Regions from separate parts of the Homo sapiens genome. Here regions 1, 2, 3, 4, 5 and 7 are each linked to region 6. The links are contacts of gene promoters, found by promoter capture Hi-C in blood cells and fetal thymus (Javierre and others, 2016). All regions are on one chromosome and are shown on one strand. Each heading gives the region's core, a stretch centred on a gene start or on the middle of the fragment in contact. The rest is flanking DNA. Distances are from core to core; before and after follow the strand shown.

What was found. Contacts are between HindIII fragments. The CHiCAGO score rates a contact against its expected background, and 5 or more counts as called.
Region 1: a contact is called between a fragment that was not itself captured here and the fragment with the promoter of UBR4 in region 6, in 16 of 17 cell types (fetal thymus, total B cells, total CD8 T cells and 13 more). The highest score is 27.5, in fetal thymus.
Region 2: a fragment that was not itself captured here is called in contact with the fragment with the promoter of UBR4 in region 6 in 13 of 17 cell types (activated CD4 T cells, neutrophils, naive CD8 T cells and 10 more); the score reaches 8.9 in activated CD4 T cells.
Region 3: a contact is called between a fragment that was not itself captured here and the fragment with the promoter of UBR4 in region 6, in 3 of 17 cell types (total CD4 T cells, naive CD8 T cells and non-activated CD4 T cells). The highest score is 6.0, in total CD4 T cells.
Region 4: a contact is called between a fragment that was not itself captured here and the fragment with the promoter of UBR4 in region 6, in 17 of 17 cell types (fetal thymus, megakaryocytes, erythroblasts and 14 more). The highest score is 26.7, in fetal thymus.
Region 5: a fragment that was not itself captured here is called in contact with the fragment with the promoter of UBR4 in region 6 in 8 of 17 cell types (fetal thymus, megakaryocytes, naive CD8 T cells and 5 more); the score reaches 9.8 in fetal thymus.
Region 7: a contact is called between a fragment that was not itself captured here and the fragment with the promoter of UBR4 in region 6, in 4 of 17 cell types (neutrophils, naive CD8 T cells, total B cells and 1 more). The highest score is 7.8, in neutrophils.

The regions. Positions count from the first base shown.
Region 1 is chr1:19,594,564-19,597,263 of GRCh38, forward strand. MICOS10-NBL1 (MICOS10-NBL1 readthrough) reads left to right here and starts at 2,416. Exons shown (of 4, transcript NM_001204089.2): 1 at 2,416-2,546. MICOS10 (mitochondrial contact site and cristae organizing system subunit 10) reads left to right here and starts at 2,416. Exons shown (of 4, transcript NM_001032363.4): 1 at 2,416-2,546. The coding sequence starts at 2,483. MICOS10-DT (MICOS10 divergent transcript) reads right to left here and starts at 2,269. Exons shown (of 2, transcript NR_135054.1): 1 at 2,147-2,269. RefSeq lists an enhancer at 2,209-2,508 and a silencer at 2,629-2,700. The HindIII fragment of the contact is 1,026 bases long and covers 778-1,803 here.
Region 2 is chr1:19,621,128-19,623,827 of GRCh38, forward strand. All of the region lies in intron 1 of MICOS10-NBL1 (MICOS10-NBL1 readthrough), which reads left to right. It overlaps MICOS10 (mitochondrial contact site and cristae organizing system subunit 10), which reads left to right. Exons shown (of 4, transcript NM_001032363.4): 2 at 973-1,020; 3 at 2,347-2,456. Among named protein-coding and RNA genes, the nearest start is that of NBL1, 22 kb to the right of the region's middle. The HindIII fragment of the contact is 6,275 bases long and covers 1-2,700 here.
Region 3 is chr1:19,713,246-19,715,945 of GRCh38, forward strand. The region is part of intron 13 of TMCO4 (transmembrane and coiled-coil domains 4); the gene reads right to left. Among named protein-coding and RNA genes, the nearest start is that of HTR6, 50 kb to the left of the region's middle. The HindIII fragment of the contact is 6,575 bases long and covers 1-2,700 here.
Region 4 is chr1:18,903,518-18,906,217 of GRCh38, forward strand. It overlaps IFFO2 (intermediate filament family orphan 2), which reads right to left. Exons shown (of 9, transcript NM_001136265.2): 9 at 763-2,700. Among named protein-coding and RNA genes, the nearest start is that of ALDH4A1, 2.3 kb to the left of the region's middle. RefSeq lists an enhancer at 1-91. The HindIII fragment of the contact is 1,403 bases long and covers 600-2,002 here.
Region 5 is chr1:18,885,149-18,888,005 of GRCh38, forward strand. It overlaps ALDH4A1 (aldehyde dehydrogenase 4 family member A1), which reads right to left. Exons shown (of 15, transcript NM_003748.4): 4 at 1,316-1,363; 5 at 325-480. Among named protein-coding and RNA genes, the nearest start is that of MIR4695, 3.3 kb to the left of the region's middle. The HindIII fragment of the contact is 3,570 bases long and covers 1-2,857 here.
Region 6 is chr1:19,208,950-19,211,649 of GRCh38, forward strand. UBR4 (ubiquitin protein ligase E3 component n-recognin 4) reads right to left here and starts at 1,317. Exons shown (of 106, transcript NM_020765.3): 1 at 1,124-1,317. The coding sequence starts at 1,299. EMC1-AS1 (EMC1 antisense RNA 1) reads left to right here and starts at 1,437. Exons shown (of 2, transcript NR_135114.1): 1 at 1,437-1,610. RefSeq lists silencers at 987-1,306, 2,332-2,401 and enhancers at 1,357-1,406, 1,657-1,706. The HindIII fragment of the contact is 5,774 bases long and covers 1-1,982 here.
Region 7 is chr1:19,576,572-19,579,271 of GRCh38, forward strand. No RefSeq gene overlaps it. Among named protein-coding and RNA genes, the nearest start is that of MICOS10-DT, 19 kb to the right of the region's middle. The HindIII fragment of the contact is 3,214 bases long and covers 1-2,700 here.

The DNA of each region.
Region 1 (2,700 bases), core at 41-2,540, 390 kb after region 6:
GAACCTGGGAGGCAGAGGTTGCAGTGAGCCAAGATCATGCCACTGCACTCCAGCCTGGGTGACAGAGCAAGACTCTGTCTCAAAAAAAAAAAAAAAAAGAAAGAATAATTTAAAAAAATAGAGAACTAGGAGAAGGGAAGGGTGGTCATAGAAGTTATCTTGAAGGAAGAGGCTGTCGTAGCAAGATCTGATACAACAGAGTTTTGCTGTCATAGTTGCAAATAAATAGTTGAACGATGCCTGTAATCCCAGCACTTTGGGAGGCCAAGGTGGGTGGATCACTTGAGGCCAGGAGTCAAGACCAGCCTGGCCAATATGGCGAAACCCCATCTCTACTAAAAAAATACAAAAAGTTAGCCAGGCGTGGTGGTGGGCGCCTGTAATCCCAGCTATTTTGGAGGCTGAGGCAGAAGAATTGCTCAAACCCAGTAGGCAGAGGTTGCAGTGAGCCGAGATCGTGCCACTGCACTCCAGCCTGGGCAACAGAGCGCGACTCTCTCTCAATAAATAAATAAACAAATAAATAGGTGAATAAATTCAATTCAGTTCAACAAATATTTCATAGAAGACCCTACTATCCAAGGCATTGTGCTCTGACTGGAAGTATGAAGACGAAGGGGCAACTTCTAGTTCTACTAGCAGATAATATCTACAACCAGATGTTTCAGTACTAGATAGAGAAATCAATGCGGGTAGGCAGGGTAGTGGGACAATGAGAAGGGGAAGGCAGCTCTAAGCTCTATCTGACTAGGCTTCCTAGAATCAGTGCAGTGTTGAAGCTTGGATAGATCCAGTGTATGAATGGGAGTCATTGACAGCTTTTTTTTTTTTTCTTTTGTGATAGGGTATCACTCTGATGCCCAGGCTGGAGTGCAGTGGCATGAACATGGCTCAGTGTAGCCTCCACTTCCCAGGCTCAAGTGATCCTCCTACCTCAGCCTCCTAAGTAGCTGGGACTAAAGGCACACATCACATTAGCCTGGCTAATTTTTTAAATTTTTTGTAGAGACAGGAGTCTCACTATGCTGCCTAGGCTGGTCTTGAACTACTGGCCTCAAACAATCCTCCCGCCTCAGCCTCCCAGAGTGTTGGGATTACAGGTGTGAGCCACTGCTCTCGGCCTTCATTGACAGCTTCTAATCAGAGGCATAACGTGGTCAGATTTCTATTTGTTGGTAGGATGGAAGACTAAAATCAATGACACTAGCCAGTAGGCTGGATATACAATCTCTCTTGATAGCTGTGGGCATTTGGTTTCAGGATCTCGCAGTTACCAAAATGCAGGATGCTCAAGTCCCATATATAAAATGGCGTGGTATTTGCATACAACCTACACACATGCTTACATATCCTTTTTTAAAATTACTTATTTTTTTTTAAAGAGATGAAGTCGAACTCCTAGTCTCAAGCAATCCTCCCATCTCAGCCTCCCAAGTAGCTGGGACTACGGTCGCATGCCACTGCGCTGGCTCCCATATACTTTAAATCATCTCTAGGTTACTTATAATACCTAATACAATGTAAATCCTAGGTAAATAGTTGTACTGTATTTTAAATTTTGCATTATTTTTTATTTGATTCAAAAATGTTTCTGGTCCATGGTTGGTTAAATCCATGGATGCAAAACCCACAGATACAGAGGGCACCCTGTGTATGTATGTGTATGTGTGTGTGTGTGTGGGTGGGTGTGTAAATATATACATGGATAGGAGGCCTGAGGTAGACGTTTTACCTGGAGATATAATTTGGCAGTGTTTGCAATTACTCAGGGAGAGTCTGTACAGTGAAAAGAGAATTGATGGAAGCTTGCGAACCAACAGTCCTTAAACAGCTGGCAGAGAAAAGGCAGCCCTGGAGGAAACCAACAGACAACAGCAGATGGGGAGAAGAGGAAAGAGTGGCGTTACCGGGAGTGAAACGAATAGAGGAGCCAGGGAGGATCAGAGGGAGGGAAAATTGTGTGGAATGCGGTACAGAGGTCAGAAAAGAGTCCATTTGATTTGGCGGTAGGTAATCTTTCCCAGAGCAGTTTCGGTGTTAGTGGTTCAGGCGGGAATTCCAATGCAAGAAACCAGTGAACGAATGAGAGAGTGAGTAGGGAAAGTGAAGGTGAGTACGTTAATGAATGAATAAATCAAGTCTGTACCCTCTCTTGCCCGGGGGATTTCCAGGGCCAATGTCGCACTTTGGTGAGGAGGAAAGGCCTGGTCACGGCTTGGGGTGACGCCTAGGAAACTGTCAGCCTCGCAAACCCATAGGCGCAGCCCCAAGGTCAGGGTCACCTCGAGCCTCCAGACAACTCGTCACCTTGACGACCAACTGAAAAAACCGGAAGGGATGGAAGCAGCGGATCATCTCGCGATATCTGGAGCGTCTGCGCCTGCCTTCCTGACCTGGGACTTGTTTCCAGCTCTCGCGAGACTTTCAGGGGTCGGAGCGCGGGGGCCGGCCGAGAGGAAAGCTGGAGGCGCGGGTGGGGAACATGTCTGAGTCGGAGCTCGGCAGGAAGTGGGACCGGTGTCTGGCGGATGCGGTCGTGAAGATAGGTAAGGGGCTTTTCGCCCCAGCAGGCCCGGCCGGTGCAGAGCTGCTGGCTCCAGGCTGCGCTGCCCAGGAGGAAGGAAGGGAAGCCCCACGGGAGGTCAGGCCTCTCGGCCTTTTCCGGCCCCTCCGGCCAGGGCGAGCCGCCCGGGCCCCGGC
Region 2 (2,700 bases), core at 110-2,609, 410 kb after region 6:
TTGAACCCTGTACCATTTTATAAACCAAGCAACAGCAGAGTCTTGCCAAGGAATATCAGTATCAATGGCTTCCATGTCCCTGAGGTTCTTGAATCACACCTACCAGGTCAACTTCTTGTGTCTGTGACTTGTGCGGTAGGATTGGTCTGGGAATGAATCTAACAGGCCCTTTTGGCTTTGTGAAGACTTGTTACTACCCAGGTTGTCTAGCATTCTGAGCTGTATGGGGAGCACAGTCATATTTTGGCTGTATTTCACTGGCAGTAGAAATCTTGACATTCCAATTTCCCTTGAGGGGTAGTAATTGTTTAGGGGTTGAAACTGGAGAGGAATCCAACATCTGGACATGGCAGGTACAGTAGCATTGGAGTCTGGCAGACTTGAGCCCAGATGACTGTTCCGCAACTAACTAAACAATATCCTTGGGCAAGTCATTTTCTTCATCTGGGGCTCTGGAGGGCCGTCTTTTTCCTCTGCCTAGATATTCTGGCTTGTGTGATAGCTCAGCCTTTAGGAATTGTTCTGGATTACTGCTTTTTATCTTCCTCAAAAAGTAGCCATCACTCCAAGTGCTGAGGTGACAAGGGGAGCGTCCTGTTGGCACTATCTCATGTTTTGGCTGTGGTATCCCTCTTTGAGGTGGGTAGGAGAGCCCAGGATGCTGGAGGCTCCTTGCCAGCAGTGTAGAGAGGGTCCACTCTAGAACAGTCTCCTGGCTTGTTCCCCTGCCCCACACCCCGCAACTTGTCTAGAGAGAACAGGGAGTCAAGTTTTTATTTCATGTTGGGCAGGAGAACCAAAGGCATCTGTAAAACCTCTGACAAATAAAGACGGTTAGAAATTAGAAAATTAATTCTCTACCAAATTATGAAAAAAAATCTGTTTAATGATGTTCACATTTAAGAAATGTTAATGTTATCTTTGTGAAGTTACTGCTATGAGATTTAGCATGTTTTTTCTCCCTCTTTGTAGGTACTGGTTTTGGATTAGGAATTGTTTTCTCACTTACCTTCTTTAAAAGTAAGTGTCACTCTGTCTTTTCAACATAATGTCATAGTGTATACATATACGTAGCAGGGACACTTCCAGAGGACACATTGGAACCCATCAATTTGTGGGTTGCCAACCCATCCATTTATGGGGTTAGGTAGCCCATTATAAAATGAATTAGATAAAGAATGTGGACTTGAAAGAGGTCAAAATGGGTTGGGCATCTCCAGCATTCCCCTGGGCACTGAGGCAGGGTGCCTGTTATCCTAAATATGATATCATTGCAAAAGCCTGTACTTGATGCCAGTGAGTCATTTGGCCAAGTCTACACGCTCAGATATTTCTAATTAATTGTGATTTTTTCTAGAGGAATTGAAAATGAGAATCCTGCTGGTAATAGAAACAAGTAGACCAGAAATACACATACTTCTTGGTCAAAAATTATCCTAAGCAAAGGGCAGGCAATATTCTTTTCATTCTGTGGAAGAACTTCTGAAGTTTGGATACCGAATAGATGCCAGAGGGATCCTTTTGACCTCTTTCCGTGAAGAACCAGTGGGAAATACTTGACTAGAGAATCATAATTAACACATAGTGCTGATATGAAAGAATCACTTACAGAGTGGCTTAAATAAACCCCATGACTTACTACTACAATCAAAGCATGTAAATATCGGTAAAATGCTTACATCTTTTTAGAATTCATGCATCTTACTGGCTAAGATATTAGTTAAACTGAGCAGATGATTAGAACTGATATAGAGAAGTTAAAAGGTTTATCTAGTGTTTTCATATTTTACTACTTTTTTTTTTTTTTTTTTTTGAAACGGAGTCTTGCTCTGTCGCCAGGCTGGAGTGCAGTGGTGCGATCTCAGCTCACTGCAACCTCCGCCTCCCTGGTTCAAGCGATTCCCCTGCCTCAGCCTCCCAAGTAGCTGGGATTACAGGCACACGCCACCATGCCTGGCTAATTTTTTTGTATTTTAGTAGAGACAGGGTTTCACCATGTTGGCTAAGATGGTCTCGATCTCCTGACCTCGTGATCCGCCCGCCTACGCCTCCCAGAGTGCGGGGATTACAGTTGTGAGCCACCGCGCCTGGCCTTTACTACTTATTTTCCTCAAACTTATCAGCATAGGCACTTAACAAGTATTTGCTAAATTAATAACTTCACTAATTTACACCTCTTTTTTGGGGCCATTGTGAAACATTGATAAAAATGTATGGTTATTATAGTCATTAGTATGATGCACGTTGAATATTTATTGAACCCTAAGTAAATGTATTTAAGAGGATGGGGAGCTTTATCTTCTCTTAATAATTCCCTATTGGGATTTTCCCTTTTTTGCTCACTAGGAAGAATGTGGCCATTAGCCTTCGGTTCTGGCATGGGATTAGGAATGGCTTATTCCAACTGTCAGCATGATTTCCAGGCTCCATATCTTCTACATGGAAAATATGTCAAAGTATGTACAGAATATATATTTCTCTTTCCTTCAGAAGAAAAAGATTTCTCCTGAGCCCTGAAGAATTCTTTAGACTGTTTGTAATGAGTAAACCATGTGTGTCATTGTGGCACCACTCTCAGATACTAATTGCTCTTTGGCCTTCAGTGATGTCATCACTGCTTTGGTGCTAAAGTCTCCCCTGTGCCTTCAGATGCGTATGTACGTTCAGATATATACTCATGTGCTAGCCGATTGGAATTAA
Region 3 (2,700 bases), core at 108-2,607, 500 kb after region 6:
ATGGCCGTTTTTTGCCATCAGTCTACCACAGATGTACACAATATGTCTGAAACACTGCAACATACTGATGGCTCATGTGTAGTGGGCAACAGGTTAAATCCATTAAGACACTAGTTCAGGATGAATCTTTCTCCAAATTCTCACCCAGGAAGAAGGGGAAGGGGTGGGGGAAACACTGGGAATGATGGCAGGCTGTTGGCAAGTGGCTGGCTTTTGGGGATGTGGTTTTGGGAGTCCTGGGCTAAGGCAGGATCCACATAAAGAACTGGAGGAGTGAGCCCAGGTAGAATCCTTTAGGCAAGATCCAGGTGGGCATGGTGGTGTGCACCTGTGGTCCCAGCTACTCAGGAGGTTGAGGCAGGAGGATGGCTTGAGCCCAGGAGTTCAAGGCTGTAGTGAGCTATGGTTGTACCACTGCACTCCAGCCTGGATGACAGAGTAAGACCCTGTCTCTAAAAATATATCAACAACAACAACAACAACAACAAAAACAAAAAAAACATGCTCCTTGAAGCGCAGAGATTCATTCTGGAAAATTCTCAGCCAATAAATTATCTCTCTCCCCTATTCTCTTTTTCTTGGGGATTTCTATAAGCAAATGTCAAACTTTAATTTAATTCCTATTTTCCATCTCTTTATCTCTCCATGATGCATTGTGGTTAATTTCTTCAAATCAATCTTCCAGTTCATTATTATTATTATTATTTTTGAGACAGAGTCTCTCTCTGTCACCCAGACTGGAGTGCAGTGGTGTGATCTCAGCTCACTGCAACTTCTACCTCCCAGGTTCAAGTGACTCTTGTGCCTCAGCCTCCCAAGTAGTTGGGATTACAGGCATACACCACCACATCTAACTAATTTTTATATTTTTAGTAGAAACGGGTTTTCACCATGTTGGCCAGCGTGGTCTCAAACTCCTGGCCTCAACTGATCCACCCACCTTGGCCTCCCAAAGTGCTGGGATTACAGGTGTGAGCCACCACACCCAGCCAGTTCATTATTTTTCTCTTTAGTTTTGTCTAAACCACTTTAATTTATCCAGTATTCATTGTAATGACTCTATTTTTTTATTTCTACAAGTTACATTTGATTTATTTTCAGATCTCCGTATTCTTTTTTTCAATGTCTTGTTCCTTCCACTTATTTTCAAAGTTTAAATTTATGTCTTTAAAAACTGTAACATACTTAGCGGGTGGGGAGGGCTTCTTCAGACCATTCTGCTGGGCACTAACGGTCTAATTCTGATTGTGTTGTTTCTGCAACCTTTCTTCATGGTGGTTTTATAAGACTGGATTGAAAACTCATCTTTACAGCTACTCATACATGGGAATCTGTGTAGCCTAGATTGAGAACCTATTTTCTCCAGAGCAGTTTTCTCTTTTAAAAAATCATTTAGGCTGGGTGCAGTGGCTCACGCCTGTAATCCCACCACTTTGGGTGGCTGAGGCGAGCGGGTCACCTGAGGCCAGGAGTTCGGGACCAGCCTGACCAACATGGTGAAACCCCGTCTCTATTAAAAATACAAAAATTAGCTGGGCGTGGTGGTGGGCACCTGTAATTCCAGTTACTCAGGAAGCTGAGGGAGGAGAATCGCTTGAACCCAGGAGGTGGAGGTTGCAGTAAGCCCAGATCGCGCCACTGCACTCCAGCCTGGGTGACAAGAGTGAAACTTCATCTCAAAATAAATAAATAAATAAATAAAAAATAAAAAGTATGGCCAGGTGCAGTGGCTCATGCATGTAACCCCAGCACTTTTGGAGGCCGAGGTGGCAGGATCACTTGAGCCAGGAGCATGAGACCAGCCTGGGCAATGTAGGAAGTCCCCACCTCTACAAAAAGAATTTGAAAATTAGCCAGGCACACCTACAGTTCCAGCTACTTGGGGGTGCTGAGGTGGGATCACTTCAGCCCGGAGGGGGTCGAGGCTGCGGAGGGTGGTGTTCGTGTCACTGTACTCCATCCTGGGTGACAGAATGAGACTGTCTCAAAACAAATTATTTATTTATTCATGTTAGAGACAGGGTCTCACTGTATATAACCCAGGCTGTAGTACAGTGGCACAATCATAGCTCACTGCAGCCTTGAACTCCTGGGCTCAAGTGATCCTTCCACCTCAGCCTCCCAAGTTGCTGGGATTACAGGCACAGGTTACCAGTCATGGCTAATTAAAAACAATTGTTTTTAGAGACTGGTTTTCATTGGGAAGGTTCTGTGAGATGATGTCTAGAATCACCTGTCACAGCGAGTATCTGATAAATATTAGTTCCTTCCACTCTTTGTATATTTGGTGCCTAATAAATGCTTATCAAGTCAAATGAAAACAAGACGGATATAACTGACGACATGAAAATTTCTCAGGATATAGGAGCAGCTGCCAAGTTCTGCACGAGCCCTCAAGGAAAGGCAGTCGGTAACTCTCCCCAGCAAGCACCCTCTGGACACGCCCCCTGGGCTGGGATTGGAGGAGGGATGGCTGCAGAAATGGCTGTGAAGTGGCCTTTTCCTCTATGAAAGTGTGCACACCAGAGAGCTGCCACCAGGTGGTGCTGTGGTGACCATGTAAGCCCCGGGCATCTCCCTGGCAGAACCCTACCCCAAGAGCTTCCTACAATGCCATTCCCATTAGAGACGGAGGGAGCGCCCTGGGAGTGGGGTCTGATCACATCCTAGAAAGCCTGCCCCTCCCTGGAGTCCCTGAGA
Region 4 (2,700 bases), core at 51-2,550, 310 kb before region 6:
AGCAGCATGAACCGCGCACCTGCTTAGGAGTCAGTTCCCATGCTGATTTTGGTTCCTCAAGCAGGGCACTAGGCAGACTACATATCCTTTCCGGGCCTCAGTTTCCTCATCTGTAAAACGGAAGTAATAGTACCCAACTCACAAAGCCCCCGTGATCTTAAGCCACTTATTTTTCTCCAGATTACACCATTTGAGGTACTTTGGGAGAATGTAAACATTTAAATGAAGAGTAGGAGAGGGAGATTACCTAAATGCCAAGTATTAGGAATGGCAAAAAGCAAATTGGAATTGGTGGCGGCTATTTGTCTTCACCTTTGGAGAAAACCCTAGACAGGTGGGCTCAGTTCACATTTGGGCAATGTTGCCCTGAACATGCCCATTGACAAGAAAAACTAGAACATTGGTTACTGTCAAATCCAGAGCCTGGGAAGGTGACCTCCTGTGGGCACGTTGGAGAGCCTGGAAAAATGGGGGCTTTGTGGTTAAAAGGACATCAGTTCCAAACCAGGCCAAGCCAGTTACTGAGCCTGTGATGTCTCATGTCCTCTCTTCCCCTTCAGTAAAATGTGTGTAATGATTCCTGCTTTGTCATCTTCCAAAGCTTTTATTGTGAGCTACAAATGTAACAGGTGATATGAAATCCCCTATTTTATGGCTAATTAACTAATGAGTTTGAGGGTTTCTGTGGCCTTCCGTCCTCCTACCCCTCCCCCAACACCAGATTCATCTTCTGTTTAAAAACAAAAACAAAAAAAAGCACCATCAGTTCTAAGACATTTCACTTTATTTAAAAGAAGCCAATATACAGGATATAAAGGGCATGATATTTACAACAGTACAGTAAACAGGTTGGTTTCCGGTAGGATCAGTAGTCTTTCCATGAGTATAAATCCCCCCCTTCCCTGTGATGCTAGACCCAGCTGGCAGACAACAGCAACGGTGGGGCAGGATCATGGGGTATAAAGTCTCCCTGGGTGGGGCTAAAAATCAGGTAGATGCAAAAACATCCACAAGGGGTCTTGCAGGGAAGGGCTTTGCCTCATTTCTTTGAGGGCTTGGGAGGGAAGGGTCTTGGTGAGGGATTTGCTCAGAACTAACACACAGCCCACCCTGAGCCTGGAAATCATCCATTCATAGAAAATTCCCTTCCAGAGAGAATCTGGCTTTACCTGCACCCACCCAGTCCCCTCCAGACTCCCCACTCCAGGAGAGAGCTCTTCTAGAGCCAGAGCTTGGTGTCTCAAGGGGGAAGACCCCTGTCCTAGGAAACCCCCAGCACCCTGATCCCTCCCCCCAGGGCCCTGGGGGGAACATAGCAAGGACTGCAGCCCAGGCTTGGCCTGGAGTAGACACAGCCGGGGCTGGGCTATGAGCATCTTAAGCCATTTCCACTTCTGCTCCAGCTGCCTGACCACCTGGGACCCGCAAAGGCCCAGGCTCCAAGGAAGTCGTGTGCTCCCACTGTCACCCATGCTCTGCTGCCTCCCAACCCTCTCCCAACGCAACTGGGTTGGAAATGGATCTCGGCAGACCAGAGTCAGAGTAACTAATTAATCAGAGCCTATCCCCAGAGCCCAGCTTGTTCCCTCCCTAATGCGCCTTGTCCCTTCCCCCACCCACCACATTTCTGAATTTCCTGCAGCCCACCCACCCCCTCAGATCCCCACCCCAAGACTTCCAAGGAGCTGAGGGGTCAGAGGAGAGGAGAATGGGGTGAAGTGGGACCTACACTCTGCTGAAGCTGCTCATGGGTGTGGATGACCAAAAGTGAGGACAGAAGACGAGGCCGGGGGACAGGAATGGGTTCCATTCAATCCAGCAACAACATGCACCATGTCTCGTCCACAGGAAAATGCTGGGCTACCACAACTGCCTACCCTAGATTAAAAAACCCTTCCTTTCATAAAAATAGATGAGAGTCTCTTGCTTTATAAATAGATTACATTTAGCTTAAGTTACATCTTATATTCTCCCCCACCCCACCCCCTCTCCTCCCACTCCAAGCTTAAGTGGTTTAATTCTCCCTAGGTCATCTGAGCTCTACCCACAGAGTTAGTCCACGATGGATTTGGCCCTTCAGGGACCTCAAGACATTTTCTCAAGACGAGAAAGAAAAATGTGTTGATTTGCCAATAATTTTTTTCTCTGTTCGGAGTCTCAGAGGAGTGCGAGTGTGTGTGTGTGTGTGTGTGTGTGTGTGTGTATTTCACAACCAACCAGGGAGCCAAAAGGATGCTAGTCTTCCTATCCCTCCCCAATCCTCTGTTTGTATAAAACCCCCAAAAACAGGAGACAGAGGGCAGCGCAGGAGAGCCCATCTGAGAAAATTCTAAAATACCAGTGTCAATATGACACTGGGCTTAGAAATAGAAAGTCAAAATTAAGTATTTACAGCTTTACAAAGGATGGACCAATTCGTCCCAGCTAGGACTGGTGCTGCCCCAGCGAGCGTTGGGGTCTTTCTTGGCAAGCTGTGGGCTCATGGTGAGGGGACAAGCAGGGCCCACTGACATTAACTGAAAAAAGCATGTGGTGGAGAGGCAGGCAGGCAGGCAGGCAGGCCGGACCCAGGAACCAGCCCAGGAGGCAGGCCCATCACACTCTGGCTTTCCCTCTCCTACCCACCTGCCCCAAGTCCTCACTCCCAAGAGGAGAGCAGATATTAAAAGCCAGCCAGAAGGGACTCTCAGGCCAGGATCT
Region 5 (2,857 bases), core at 58-2,557, 320 kb before region 6:
GCTGACCAAGCTAGGAGGCAGGGAGACAGTGCAGGCCACCACCAGTCCAGGCAAAGCATGACAAAGGCCTAGGAGCGAGGACAGAGGGATGGAGGAGAGGGGACATTTCCGAGGCAGGACACATGGGCTCTGCACAATCTGTCTCGCCTAATAATCTGTGATCATCCATCCCAGCTCCTAGGCCTTGTCCCTTGAGGACATCTCTGGGTCCCCAAAAGGGCTTAGGACCCAGAAGCGCTTCAGCTGATGTCTGCTGCCATGGGTAGGGCACACCTGACTCCCACCCCACCCCGCCCCACCCACCCGGGCCCACCAGCACCTCACCTGTCCCACCATGGTCTTGGCGAGGATCTCAGCCCTGCGCGGCCCACTCAGCATGTCTGCCGCCTTCAGGAAGATCTGGGCCCGGTCTGCAATAGGCTTCAGGTCCCACTCTTTCCGGGCAGCCAGGGCAGCCTCAATGGCTTTGTTGAGCAGGCTCTAAAGGGAGAGGGAGAGGTTGGGGACTGCCACCTGCAGCGGGAAAGGCCCTGGGGAGTGAGCGAGGGAGGAGAGACCTGGGAGGCCACTCTCTTCCATCCGGGGACAATGCCTGTCTCCCTGGGCCCTCAGCCCCCTGCCACCATAGCTGCCAACAACAGCGTCCCATCAGAGCCTGTAGTGGCTGCCAGTCTGAAGCCTGAAGGGCCCGGCCAGGTTGGTCAGCTCTCCGAGGCCTTGGCACTGAGTCCCGCAGCTGTTACACTGGCTCCACTTTCTCTCATGGTCTAATCAAAACCTTACCTTATTCTTGGGACCTGGTGCCCCTTAACCCACCATCCAGAAACTTGAGGTCAACTGGAGCCTGAGACACGGCTCTGCTGCTGGCCTCCCAGACCCCAACTGCCCTCATCGCCACACAATGCCAGTTCCTGGACCCCCAGCCACCCCAGCCCCTCCTGCTGGCCCTTTCCAGTGCCAATTCTTGGCCTAGCTTTCCATCAATGGTGTCTCCAATTGCCCTGACTCAGCCTTCCAGAATCCACCTCCTCCCCAGTCCAAGGTCTGCCCCACCACAATGGGCATGTCTGGGAATGTCTCAGCCCTGGCTGAGGCAGCTTGTGTTTGGCTCAAGTTAACCTTTGTATGCCTGGCCCAGTCAAAGACATCACCCAGGGACTCCCTCAGTGTCAGCCACCCCCTGCCCACCTACCCACCATGGCCAAAGAAGGACACAGCAACTGATGCCCCCTGCCCCCGCCATATCAGCAGCTGGCAGGGCAGAGCAGGGGCAGCAACCCTAACCCCGGGTCACCAGGCACACAGGCTCACTCACCTTGTCTGCATAACAGAACTTGGCCACCTTATGTCCATGGTTAAAAGGCTGAAAGGAGAGAAGAGTGAGGTCCTTGCCCGGGAGGGAGGTGCCAGGATAAGGATGAAGAGGACTGGACTCAGAGCCGGTTTTCCAGGAAAGTCCTGGACACGCCTGCTGTCCCCCCTCCCCCGCTCCCATGAAACCCTCCCCAGTGCCCGGCCCACAGGTTGCTCCCTGTTAAGGGTGCTGGTGTACCCGCTATACCATGAGTAAGACATGGCTCCTTCTCCAGAAGGCTCAGAGTCCAGGAGAAAGGCATAGACCCCAGGGTCTTTCCAGGAAAGCACGGACCTTTGTGGTCAGAGAGACATGGGTTCGAATCCTGGCTCTGCCACCTACTAGCTGTGGGGCCCCAGGTAAGCTCACTTCCTTCCCTAAGTCTCTTCATCTAGGAAATGGGGACTGCCCTCCCTGTCTCTTAGCATGGACAGGAGAACCAAAGGGGATCATGGATGAAAATTCTTTGGTCCAGTATGAGGCTGCGACTATGGGCAACAAAACCAGGTGAGGCCCAAAAGAATGCACCGGTGTTGTGACATGCTTGGGACTTCCGCCCTGCCCCGAAGCCATCATGGACAGAGCAATTGTTTCCTAAGCCCCAGATTTACTAATCTAAATAGGAAGATCCTCAACAAACATTTATAAACACAACCTGGTGTTGGTCCAAACCGCACCATTTTGTCAGCTCCCCGCTATTTTGCAGACCTCGGGCCAAGTGAAACATTTCACAGGAGCTCAGGCCATGAGAACCATCCGGCTCAGCCGCCTGACCGCAAGGCGGACGAAGGCCCACCTAAAGAAACTTCCCTGTTGGCCGGGCGCGGTGGCTCACACCTGTGATCCCAGCACTTTGGGAGGCCAAGGCGGGCGGATCACAAGGTCAGGAGATCGAGACCATCCTGGCTAACATGGTGAAACCCTCTCTCTACTAAAAATACAAAAAATTAGCTGGGCGTGGTGGCGGATGCCTGTAATCCCAGCTACTGGGGAGGCTGAGGCAGGAGAATGGCATGAACCTGGGAGGCGGAGCTTGCAGTGAGCCGAGATCGCACCACTGCACTCCAGCCTGGGCGACAGAGCGAGACTCCGTCTCAGAAAAAAAAAAACCATCCCTATCATATCTTGCTGGGTAAAGGTACAAGGAACACCACGATGACATCCCACCGGAGAGGGCCAAACCACCTGATCATAACAACATCTTATCAATATCCTGCCAGGCAGCAAGCCATACTGCCCAGACCCGTCTCACCCATACCGATGAGTACCTCAGCCTGTAAGCAGCGGTGGGCCCTGGCATTAAGCTGGTCCCCCACTTCCTCAGGTTTCTGCAATATACTGGTGTTGCTGTTTCAGCTGCCCTCTCTCTGTGTGTGTGTCTTTCTTTAACCCCTGTCTTCCCTTCAAAACCTAATGCCCGGCAGTGGTGAACGCTAGCATGACCAATGAAGCAGGGAGAAATTTCACTTCTTTCCTTCCTAGGGCTGGCAAGATAGTTTATAT
Region 6 (2,700 bases), core at 67-2,566:
CCTGGCCTGATGATTAGATAGCAAAATCCGTCTGTAAAGCTGACTGTGAAGTTACCAAACTCAACCATTATTTTATTATAATTTGTTAAAAACTCTGCATCCAAAGGATTACAAGTCTACAACAAGAAAAAGCACAAAAACAATTTGTCAAACCGTGGGCCTCCTTTGAGTAACAAATAGCAATTTTTAACCTCTGGATAGCAGCTAGATATACCCTTGTCATCGTGAAGCTAAAATGACCCAGTTAACAATTGCAGGGAGTTGCTGAAATGAGGTATGGCTAGAAAAATGAAAGTCAGTCTGGCTTTAAAAGCAAAAGTCTACCATTAAACTAATGAAAGACTGCTCTGAGCACAGTATGTCAGGAAAAGGCAGGCACTCTGAGATCACCATCTTTGTACCTACATAACTGTCACTAGCTAAGAATCGCTGTGCAAAAAGACAAAAACACACAAAAGGAAACCAACAGATAGTACCGTTTGTAAAAGAATGTGATGATATTTTAATGCGAGGGGGATGGGAGGCAGCAAGAGAACACACACACCACACATCCTCTGGGAAAATGATCTCTCAGACACACACTGAAATGTTTTTAATCAAAGACCGATACAGTAGGAATGCACAAGGAGTGCAACGTAAAAAGAGGTCATCAATGTAGCTAGTGGCTTCAGTCACAGAAATAGCACGTGCCCCCACTGATTACAGCACCGCGGGGAGACCGTTATTAAATTATACCGTACGGCTCCGCTCCGGCCCAGGCTAGGAGGATGAGTGCGGGCGAGAAATGCAAACTCATCTGTGACTTGACCCAAGGGGCAGCCCCGTGAACATTCCCTTAAGAGGGCGAATGCATCTCACTCTCAACCATGTCCGGCCACGCCCTCCCGCAGGGAGGCCGCTAAAGTTTTGCTCGAGAGGGGAAACTGAGGTAGAGGTGATTTACATGCGTTGGCGGAGGGAAACCCAGGCAAGCCAGTCTCCCCGGGCCCGGGACCCCGAAGCCGTGGCTGTGGCGGGGATCCTCAAGGGGGCAGGGGGCGGCCCGGAAAGCGGGTCCAGACGATCCGGCTCGAAATCCCCTCCCCCCACAACAGCGTCGCCCGCCAGAGCCGCCGCCCGGTACCTCTCGATGACTGAGGCCACCAGCTGCGGCAACTCCTTCATCTCGAAGGCGGAGTAGGACGCGGACAGCAGGGGCCGCACAGCCACCTCCCAGCCCGGGGTCGTGTCCGCCCCCGTTGCCGGGGTCCCCGGCGCCGGAGCCGCTGCCGCCGCCTCTTCGCCGCCGCTCGTCGCCATCTTCCGTCGTACTACTGCGGCTCCCTCCGGGGGCTTGCCACCGGCCCAGCGCCGCCTCCCAGGAGGGGGCGGAAGTGACGCAATCTGTCGCGTCAGACTGCGCGCCGCCGTCATGGGTCAAAAACGCGACGCGCGGAGCGGCCTTTGCTCTCACCGGGGTCGAGCCGCGGCGAGGGAACGGATCGGAGACGCTGCGCCTGCTCAGAAGGTAGCGCAGCGGGGAAAGGCGGGAGAGCGTTAACTTCTGAGCCTGCGCGGTGGGAGTTGCTCAAGCAGGTGGTAGCGACTTGGCTTCCGGGCAGCGGGTAAAGGTGAGTCTGGGGCATGGGTTCAGTGGGCAAGTCTAGGGCAGCAGAGTTGACTACGCCTCGGCGTATAGAATGGCCCTGGCCTGGGACAGCTAAGGACGACAAGAGGAGGCCGAAGCCTAAAACGCTTTCACCTGCTTCTTCCCCTGCCTAGATCCCCCCAATAGTAATACTAAAGAGCGCCATAGTTTACAAAGATTTCTCCCTCTCACAACACCTTTTAATCACTGATCCGTATTCCCTTAGCACTCAAATCTCTTCTGTTTGGATTGCCCTCATTAACAATCTGACCAGCTCGTACAATGCATCCCTCTTTGCAATTTGCCACGTATGCTTACGTGTTCCCCTTTTTTCTACTGGCAAGGAAAGAATGTAAGCTTTTATTCACAGGAGATGTCTGAGACTTTTGCCGGTAAAATGATCTGGCTACAAGGTCTAAGAGGGAAAAGCAGTTTGCTCGAGGAAAGGTATTCGTGCATTAAGGACAGTCCTGTGAGTGAGATATTGGTGGACGGCTTCAAGCTCTAGCCTGTGGCCTACAGCTGGCCTAAATAAGACTGGGAAGGAACTGTGAAGACGGTTTCAAATTCCTAAAGCCCTGAAATTCTCCCCCTAAGTTTAGGAAGAGCTTTTGTTCTTGGTGTGTAACACTGATAAATGAATTGGTACCTAGTGATTAATCTGCACTTTTATTAAGATATGACCTACTTTACCTTTTTTGAGACAGGATCTTGCTCTGTCGCCCAATAGCCCAGGCTGGAGTGCAGTGGCAGAGTTGCAGCTGGCTGCAGCCTCCACCTCCCTGGCTCAAGTGATCTTCCAGCCTCAGCCTCCCCAGTAGCTGAGACTATACAGGTGCAGGCCACCACTCTTAATTTTTTTTGTTTGTTTTTAAGAGACAGGTCTCCCTACGTAGCCCAAGCTGTTTTCGAAGTCCTAGGTTCCTCCCACCTTGGACTCCCAAAGTGCTGGGATTACAGGCTTGACCCACTGCGCCCAGCCTGCATCTTTACATTCGAAATAAAATTCAGTCAAGTCAAAGCCGGTCTTGGAGGAAAATGTGGCTTTGATGACAGCAGTAGGGATTTTCCTT
Region 7 (2,700 bases), core at 106-2,605, 370 kb after region 6:
TTACAAAGGCTCTGAACTCAGGCTTTCCTGAAGGGGGCTTACTCCTCACTTTAGAAATGGCCAGTGGAGGATATAGCATCAGGCCGTTCGACCACCACAATCCCCTGAAATGACCTGAGCAGCATATTCAAGTCAGCGCAGGGGTGAGATTTAAAGTTGCCACAAGAGACCCAGAACTGTGGCTCATGCCTGTAATCCCAGCACTTTGGGAGGCCGAGTCAGGAGGATCACCTGAGGCCAGGAGTTCAAGACCAGCCTGGTCAACATGGCAAAACCCCATCTCTACTAAAAATACAAAAAATAAAAAAAAATAGTCGGGCGTGGTAGCGCGCGCATGTAGCCCCAGCTACTCGGGAAACTGAGGCAGGAGAATTGCTTGAACCCGGGAGGCAGAGATTGCAGTGAGCCGAGATTGCACCACTGCACTCCAGTCTGGGTGACAGAGTGAGATTTCATTTCAAAAAAATAAAAAAATAAAGTTGCCACAACATCCCCAGTTTGTCTCTGGAATCCTCCCAGACTACCTCGTTTTTCCACTCTGCTACTCCTTGTTCATAAATTTCTTGGTTCTCAGCTGACTTTGTTTTGGCTTTACATTACGGTTTCTATCCTCCACCCATGTCTTTGCTGGATGATCTGCTGGGCTTGACTCATTCTTCTGGCTCTCAACAACCATATGGATCCACGCCACTGCCTTTGGTCTTTGTTCTTCAATCCCCCACATTGCTCCCAAAGGGAAGAAGCAGTTCATCTGTGGGATCCACTTGATGTGTCTCACCTTTCACCAGGACCACGAGGGGCGTGGGGGCCTGCCAGCTTCAAGATGGCACAATAAAGGCATTTCTGCTACCATCTTTTAAAATCACTCCAAAATAAGCAGTACAATAAATTTAAAAATATGTATATTATTTAGGAAACCAGGAGACAACAGCAGCCCCTAATCATACTAATTGAACCAGAGAGGGAAAGGGCAACACACACCAGGTGGTTCTGATAATGGTGGGTGTTAGGGTATTTAGACTAGACCTTGAAGATAGAGAGTTCTTCAGTGTTTCTTTATTCCCAGAGCTTAGCATAGAACCTGGCCAAATCAAGTCCTCATCAAATACTTGTTGAGTGAATTACATCATTATATATATTTATATCCTATAACAGTTATCAGCACATGAAAACATTTTACTATAAGGAGAACTGTTAGAAATGTTTGCTACATTGCTAAGCGGGGCTTCCGTTCTTTCTCTTGGAGAGAGGACCCTTCTACATCCATAGGCTGAGGAAGAGAACTCTGACTAATACCTTTGCCCTGATGATTAGCATTTCATTGCTTCAATTTTTAAAACATTCACAAAATCTGCTCTTTCATTGGCTCTGTTTCAGTCGTTCATTATTTTAATGTGAACTTGGCTCTTATGGAGGTCAGGACTTGATAATTGCATTCAGCCCTTTGCAATTATTGGTAAGAAACCAGGTAAGAAACCACTGACATTTAATATTTAATTGTTTTTGATCAGCATTAATTAGTCACAGATGCACACCAGATTCCCATTTAATTAAATACTCTTGGGAACATATTTTGGGCTCAGGGATTCTAACCACATCAAAAAATAAGTGTTCAACTTTAAAAGTTGGGCCCCAGAGACCCAGGCATCCATGGAGAGGAAATTCCAGATGTCTAGCATTCTCCCTTTTCTTAGAAATAAACCTTCTACTTCTAGCCCTCTGGAATAGAAAGTCTCGGCATTTCTTTTCTCTTTTATTTTATTTATTTATTTTTTGAGATGGAGTCTCACTCTGTCGCCCAGGCTGGAGTGCAGTGGCACGATCTCGGCTCACTGCAACCTCCACCTCCCAGGTTCAAGCCATTCTCCTTCCTCAGCCTCCCAAGTAGCTGGGACTACAAGCATGCACCACCATGCCCGGCTAATTTTTGTATTTTTAGTAGAGATGGGGTTTCACCATGTTGGCCAGGCTGGTCTCAAACTCTTGACCTCATGATCCACCCACCTTGGCCTCCCAAAGTGCTGGGATTACAGGCGTGAGCCACCAGGCCCGGCCTCTTTTATCCTTTTTTTGTTTGTTTGTTTGTTTTTTTGAGACAGAGTCTTCCTCTATCGCCCAGGCTGGAGTGCAGTGGTGCGATCTCAGCTCACTGCAGCCTCTGCCTTCTGGGTTCAAGTGATTCTCCTGCCTCAGCCTCCCAAGTAGCTGGGATTACAGGCACTTGCCACCACGCTCAGCTCATTTTTGTATTATTAGTAGAGACGGGGTGTCACCATGTTGGCCAGGCTGGTCTCGAACTCCTGACCTCAAGTGATCCACCCACCTCGGCCTCCCAAGGTGCTGGGATTACAGGCATGAGCCACAGTGCCTGGCCCTCCTCTCTCTTCTTGCATCATCAGTTTTACCCTCTTTACTGAATCATTCCCATCCACATACAAACATGAGCAAGTTCTCCCATTCTAAAAAAACCCACTGTCAAACCCACCCCTTCTCAAACTATTGCCCTTTTTCGTCCCTCTTTGGAAATAAACTTCTAGAAAAGATTGTGTGCACTTGCTGCCTCCAGCCCCTCTCCTCCTAGTCTCTCTCAAACACACTGCATTTGGACTTTGGCTCCAACTACTCCATGGAGACCGTCCTTGTCAATGTCTCTAAAATTACCTTTCTGATGTTAAGACCAATGGCCACTTCTCCACCCTC